Linked DNA regions of Homo sapiens: region 1 is linked to region 2. Evidence: promoter capture Hi-C in 16 types of primary human blood cells and fetal thymus (Javierre and others, 2016). All regions are on one chromosome and are shown on one strand. Each heading gives the region's core, a stretch centred on a gene start or on the middle of the fragment in contact. The rest is flanking DNA. Distances are from core to core; before and after follow the strand shown. Region 1 overlaps LINC00905 (long intergenic non-protein coding RNA 905). Region 2 holds the start of OR10H1 (olfactory receptor family 10 subfamily H member 1).

What was found. The method cuts DNA at HindIII sites, captures the fragments that hold promoters and counts their contacts. A CHiCAGO score of 5 or more calls a contact.
Region 1: a fragment that was not itself captured here is called in contact with the fragment with the promoter of OR10H1 in region 2 in 2 of 17 cell types (naive CD8 T cells and naive CD4 T cells); the score reaches 5.5 in naive CD8 T cells.

The regions. Positions count from the first base shown.
Region 1 is chr19:16,038,862-16,042,216 of GRCh38, forward strand. LINC00905 (long intergenic non-protein coding RNA 905) reads left to right here. Exons shown (of 5, transcript NR_024335.2): 5 at 2,578-3,274. Among named protein-coding and RNA genes, the nearest start is that of LINC00905, 6.8 kb to the left of the region's middle. The HindIII fragment of the contact is 781 bases long and covers 1,093-1,873 here.
Region 2 is chr19:15,814,051-15,817,274 of GRCh38, forward strand. It overlaps OR10H1 (olfactory receptor family 10 subfamily H member 1), which reads right to left and starts at 1,614. Exons shown (of 4, transcript NM_013940.4): 1 at 1,505-1,614. The HindIII fragment of the contact is 16,264 bases long and covers 1-3,224 here.

The sequences.
Region 1 (3,355 bases), core at 233-2,732, 220 kb after region 2:
TGGTCAGCACAGAACGGGCACCCAGTGAGCACTCGAGGATGACCCTCCTCGGGCAGCTGCCGCCCACCCAGTAGCGACTGTCCCCAAGTCAGCAGGGAGGGAAGAGAGCAGGTCACGCTCTCCTAAGTCTGATCAAGCAGCCGTGCAGAGATGTGCCTCTCACCTAGAAAAGAGAAAAGCGTCCTTTGGGCAGAACCCACTCACACTGTGTCTCCAACTGCTCTACGACACAGAGCCGGGCAGGTACCTGGGTGTTGGGTAATGGTGACATTGTGGGCTCACGGCACCCATCACAACGGAGCCCTGCATGGGTCAGCAGGGCCCAGAGACGGCATCCTCTGCCCCTCCTGAACTGTCGACGTGTGCGTGCAATGCGTCTGTGCACTTGAGTGCAGGTGGATATGTGCGGGTGCGTGTGAGCGTGTGTCTCTCCTCCGGCCGGCCCTGGCTTCCCCAATCACGTGTGCCCCCATGTCCTCATCACTGTCACCCCAGGGCCTGTGGTCAGCATCAGAGCATCCACAGGTGCGCCCCAGCCTCTGCCTTCAGGCAGGGTGGTCCTGGGGATGCAGGCAGGGCAGGGCAGTGCCGTGGGTGAAACCCCCTCCCTCGGGAGGGACTCAGTGTATACGGTACTAAATCTGCATAGCAGGGCCATATTCAATGCACTTCTCCTCCTCCCAGTAGCTCTCTGGGGTGCAGTTGATTTCATCTCCCCTACAAATGGAAGAAAGGAGGCTTCTAGGACAAACCCCCTGCCTGAGGTCACCCAGCAGCCAGCTGACCTCGTCCTTACTAAGTCCCCACTAACCAGGCCCCCACTCACCAGGTCCCCACCCACCAGGTCCTGTTGACTAAGCCGGACTGATCGTGTTCTGTGCTGACCAAGCCCTGCAGACTGGGTCCCACTGATCAGTCCCCCCCAGTGACCAAGCCACCACTGACCCGGTCCCCCGTGACCATCTACCCACAGACAAGGGCCCATCTTCTTAAGTCAACCCATCTAAGAAAATGGGTTTGGCCCCAGACCAAAGCCATTTTCTTAAGTTCCATGGAGCTCACTAGGGTATAAAGCCAAGTGGGGAGAGGCTAAGCTTCAGAATCTGGACGTTTTCAACATTTCCAGGTATTTCCACATTCTTCACAGTGATTTCACCAATGTGCTCTCCCACCATTGAGGGTTTCTACCTGCCTCCAAAACTGCTGGTGTTGCCAGACTTTTCATTTATGTTGGGTGTTGGGTTTGAAATGCCTCATGGTGGCTTCTTGTTCCTCATGACTGGTGAGGTTGGGTGCCCTTGTATTTTAATCCTGTGCCAACTGGGCCCCCCCACCCCCACCCCCGCCACTTGCTGTCTCTGCTTCGTAAGGAGATCTTCTTGCCCGGTCAACTCCGAGGGATCACAGGTTCAGGGGTGCCCCCAAAATGAGACACTTAGTGTTTGATGAATGAATGATGATGTTGAGGCCAGGAGTGAGAGGAAGGTCAGCAGGCAGACAGGGCCCATGTGGACAGAAAGGGTTTATTCCAAGTCCAGACATGACCAATAGCGATAAAAAGGGGGAACAATTGGAGTAATCCATGGGAGAAGGAGTGAGCCTGAATTTGAAAGATGGAGAGAACTGGACGTGGAGGAGGGGAGGGAGGAAGGCAGAACAAAGGAAATAAGAAGCTGTTGACCAAAATACATATGTTGTGATTCCATGCATATGATCAAAACGTGATCGTGTAATCATGCACATTTCTCAAATTCAAATGGACAAGGTATACATAATTTTTCCCATTCCTCCCACGAAGCACAACTAAAACCCTGGGCCAGACATCATACATAAAAACATAAGACTCTGAATAAGATTCAGCCTTTAAAAACAAAGCTTGTGTTTACGTGGATGAACCCGGAAGACGTTCAGTGAAATAAGCCAGGCACAGAAAAACAAATACTTCCTGTCTCACTTGTGGAATCTAAAAAGCTGAACTCCCAAGTAGAATGGTGGCTCCAGGGACTGAGGGAGGGAGGAGGGACTGAACAGATATTGGCCAAAGGGCACAAGAGGAATTGTTCAACATGGTGACTCTAGTCAATGTATTTTATTCTTGAAAAATGCTGAGTAGTCTGGGCGCAGTGGCTCACACCTGTAATCCTAGCACGCTGGGAGACTGAGGGGGATCACTTGAGGCCAGGTGTTTGAGACCAGCCTGGGCGACATAGTGAGACCTCATCTCTTTTTTTTTTTTTTTTTTTTTCAATATAAAAAAACTGAATTGCTGAGCAAATTTTAAGTGTTCTTACCACAGAAAAAGAGATAAGCATGGAGGTATGGTCACGGGTATGTCAAGGAAATGTTAAATTAGCTTGATTTAGATATTTTACGCTGTACGCCTATGTCAAAACATGTTCTATGCATCATATTTACAACTTTGTCAAAATAAAAAGTGATTGGGAAATTGGATCAAACTAGAAAAATGTAAGACTCTGAATGATGGAGGGAAGGCAGACACAGTGGGAATTTCAGGACCCAAGGAATGACACGAAAGTCAATTCTTTGGTGTTTTGTTTTGTTTTTCGCCACATACAGCCCAGGCTTGGACCTGAAGAAGCTGGCAACCCGCGAACGCCAACAGGCACAGTCGAAAAAAGCAAAAGAAAAATCCCAAACAAAATCCTGTTCTCCCTAGCCAAAGGACCAGGAGAGGGGGCAGCCCAGCAAGACAAAACACATTTACACAATTCTGGCTAACCTCAGCCAGTCCTTGGCCGTGAGTTCGTTTTTCTGCCACCTCACTTTGGGGCTGGGCTGGTTCTCCACCCTCGCAGGGTGCGTTTCTCAATCCAGACGCTGGGGGGCGCTAGTACCTCGCGAGCTCCGCGAGGATCATTCCCGGGACGCCGCGGAGTCACCTCCCCTCCTAGGGACCCAGAGCTTCCCAGGGCCGCGCCTGTAGGTTTTCCAGAGGTCCCCGAAAACGTTAAAGACCTGGAAGGAAAAAAAAACTGTAAAACCACACACTTTGATATTTGACAACGTAAAAGCAAGGCTGCAAAATCAAAATCAATGAACGCTTGAAGGAAATGTCTACTTAGCTAGACATAGTGCCACCTGGATTCACTGTTGGCTCCAGAATCCCCCCCACGGTGTCATCACGTTGGAAAGTTTTTGTGGGTTAGATGTTCTCTGTTGGCAAGAATGCCTGTACATGCCCAAGAAGCATATGAGTTTAATGGGACCCCAATAACTTCAAAAGCAAAAAGATAACGATCCTTTCTACTTTTTTAACTTTGTGTGTGTGTGTATCAGGGTCTTGCTCTGTTGCCCAGGCTGGAGTGCAGTGGCGCAATCACAGCTCACTGCAGCC
Region 2 (3,224 bases), core at 364-2,863:
AGCAGGGTTTCCTGCCTTCAGCATTAGGGACGCTAGGGGCGAATCATTCTCTCTCAGAGGGGTGTCCTGTGCACTGCAGGAGACTGAGCAGCATTCTTGGTCTCCACCCACCAGATAGATACCAGCAGCACTCCCCAGTCACGACAATCAGAAATGTCCTTATACGTTGTCACGTGTCTCCTGGGTGACAGCATCACTCCATGGGCCAGGCCTGTCTTGTCTCTGAGACCCCATCTGGCCTTAACTCTCACCCATCCTGGCTCTCTCTTCTTAGTGAAGCTGTCTGGCCTCCCCTCTCTTCCACTTAAGCCACCACTTCCCTCTCTTTTCTCTCCATCTTCTCATCCCCAGCTCCTAACCATTCCCTCACCACCTGCTCCCATTGACGCCTCCCTTGTGTGTGTGTGTGTGTGTGTGTGTGTGTGTGTGTGAGAGAGAGAGAGAGAGAGAGAGAGAGAGAGAGAGAGAGAGAGAGAGAGAGAGACAGGGTATCCCTCTGTCACCCAGGCTGGAGTGCAGAGGCACAATCACAGCTCACTGCAGCCTTAACTTCCTGGGCTCAAGCAATCCTCCCACCTCAATCTCTGGAGTAGCTACAGGTGCCTGCCATTCCTGGCCAATTTTTGTATTTTTTTGTACAGACAGGGTCTCACTATGCTGCCCAGGCTGGCCTCAAACTCTTGGACTCAAGTGATCCTCCCACCTTGGCCTCCCAAAGTGCTGGGATTGCAGGCATGAGCCACTGCACCCGGCCCACCCTGATTCTTTACACCCTGGGGTGGTGGCTGGAGCTTCTGAACCCTGAATCCTCTTTCTCTCTTTTCTCCGCCTCTTCCCAATCCTTTTTCCGTAGACTTCTTGCCTGGACAGACCGAGAAGAGAGGTTAAAATCAAACCATCACCTTGGGTCACATTGAGCATTGGCTGTCTTCTCTCTGCACCTGTTACCTCCCCCATCCAAGGGACCTACCTCATGAGGCAGCAGGAGCTCTAAAGAAGGCAAGTCCTGGCTGGGCACGATGGCTCATGCCTGTAATCCCAGTACTTTGGGAAGCCGAGGCGGGTGGATCACGAGATCAGGAGTTCAAGACCAGCCTGTCCAGCATGGTGAAACCCCTGTCTCTACTAAAAATACAAAAAATTAGCCAGGCATGGTGGCACGCACCTGTAGTCCCAGCTACTCAGGAGGCTGAGGGAGAAGAATCGCTTGAACCTGGCAGGCGGAGGTTGCAGTGAGCCGAGATTGCGCCACTGCACTCCAGCCTGGGCTACAGAGCGAGATTCCGTCTCAAAAAAAAAAAAAAAAAAATAGAAGAAGGTAAGTCCTGCTAAGCAAACAGCACACTGACTAAGACGTGGTGAGTGGCCTCTGCCTGTCACCCACTGCCCTGTAGACTCACATTGCTAAAGGAGTAATATAAACAGGTGGTTTCTTGGAGTCCCTGGCAGGTGCTGGTTCCCCAGGTCTCTCCTGGTCAGGTGGCTGAGAGGGGAGGTGACTCACCTGGGACTCCAGGCATCTGCTTCTGCTTCATCCCAGTAGGAGGCTCTAGTTTGGAGTTTCTCCACAGGTGGGAGCTGACCAGGTGTGGGCTGCACCAAGCAGCCACACCAGCTGAGCCGGGGGCTTGACTGAGCCCAAATGCGATTATTTATCCCTCCCTGACTCCCTGCCCACCGGCTTCCCTCGCTGTGGTCCTACTGTCTCTGTCTCCGCTACAGGGATGCTGGGACCCCAGGGACCCTGCCAGAGAGGAGGCAACCTCAGGGAATCTGTATCCTCACTTTCCCATTCCCCCCGCCTGCCAGGGGTGAGTCAATTCCCTGAGCTTGTCAAGAGCTTGAGCAGAGTCTAGTGCTCTACAGATTTGGGGTTTGGGCCCATGACTGTTGAAATTGACAGGAGGGCAGCCCTGCCATTGCCCCCAGGGACTGCAGAGGCTGCCTTGATATGCCCCGTCACCTTCATTCTTCTCCAACTGGGTCATTTGCCCAACTAAATGTCCTTTAAAATAATTTTTTAAAACCAACACACACACACGTATTTGTTTTTATTTTTATTTTTTGAGACAGGGTCTAGCTCTGTTGCCCAGGCTGGAGTGCAGTGGTGTGATTATGGCTCACTGCAGCCTCAACCTCCCAGGCTCAAATGATTCTCCTGCCTCAGCCTCCTGAGCAGCTGGGAGTAAAGGTGCTTGCCACCACACCTGGGCTAAGTTTTAATTTTTCTGTAGAGATGGGGTCTCGCTTTGTTGCCCAGGCTGGTCTTGAGCTCCTTGGCTCAAGGGATCCTCCCACCTTGACCTCTCAAAGTGCTGGGATTACAGCTGTGAGCCACCATGCCTGGCCTGTTTCTTCTTATTATGTAATTGAAATGCTACATACAAAGCAGCAAACCATGCAATGGCCAGCCAGGCAATCGTGACGGTGAATTTAATGGGTATCCCTTCAGATCTTCATGAGCATGTAGGATGTGAAAACAATGCAAACCCATAAAATCAGAGTTCTGTTGTGCATTATTGTTGCTTTCGCTTCGTTCTGCTTTTGAGGTGAAATTCACATAAAATAATCAACCACTTTAAAGTATACAATTCCCTGGGATTGAATGCATTCACAATGTTGTGTGGCCGCCGCCTCTGTCTAGTTCCAAAATGTTTTCATCACCTAATACCCATTAGCAGCCACTCCCCTACCCCACCCAGTCCTTCAAAACCACCAATTTGTTTTCTGGCTCTGGCTCTATGGACTTACCTATTCTAGACATTTCATATAAATGGGACTATATACTACTATATATAACGATGCATTATGATTGCCCCTGTGAGTAGCCACGGCACTCCAGCCATTTTGTCAACACAAAAATGTCGACATTGCCAAGACTGAGAAACTTTGGTCTGCATAAACTCACACAGAGTTCACTCTAAGACGCTGAGTGAAAAACCAAGTTACGGAAAGATATCTACGGGAGAATCAGATCTGCATTTTAAAAACACACAAAATGGTTTGACAGTTTATCAAAAAGTTAACATAGAAATTATCAAAGGACTCAGCAATTTCACTCCTAGGTATACACCCAAAAGAATGGAAAAGGATTCAAACAAATCCTTGGACATCAAATGTGCATAGCAGCACTGTTCACAGTAGCCAAACGGTATTTTTTAATTTTTCTGTAGAGAGTAGGATTTCACTTTGTTTCTCAGGCTGCTCTTGGAACTCCTGGGCTT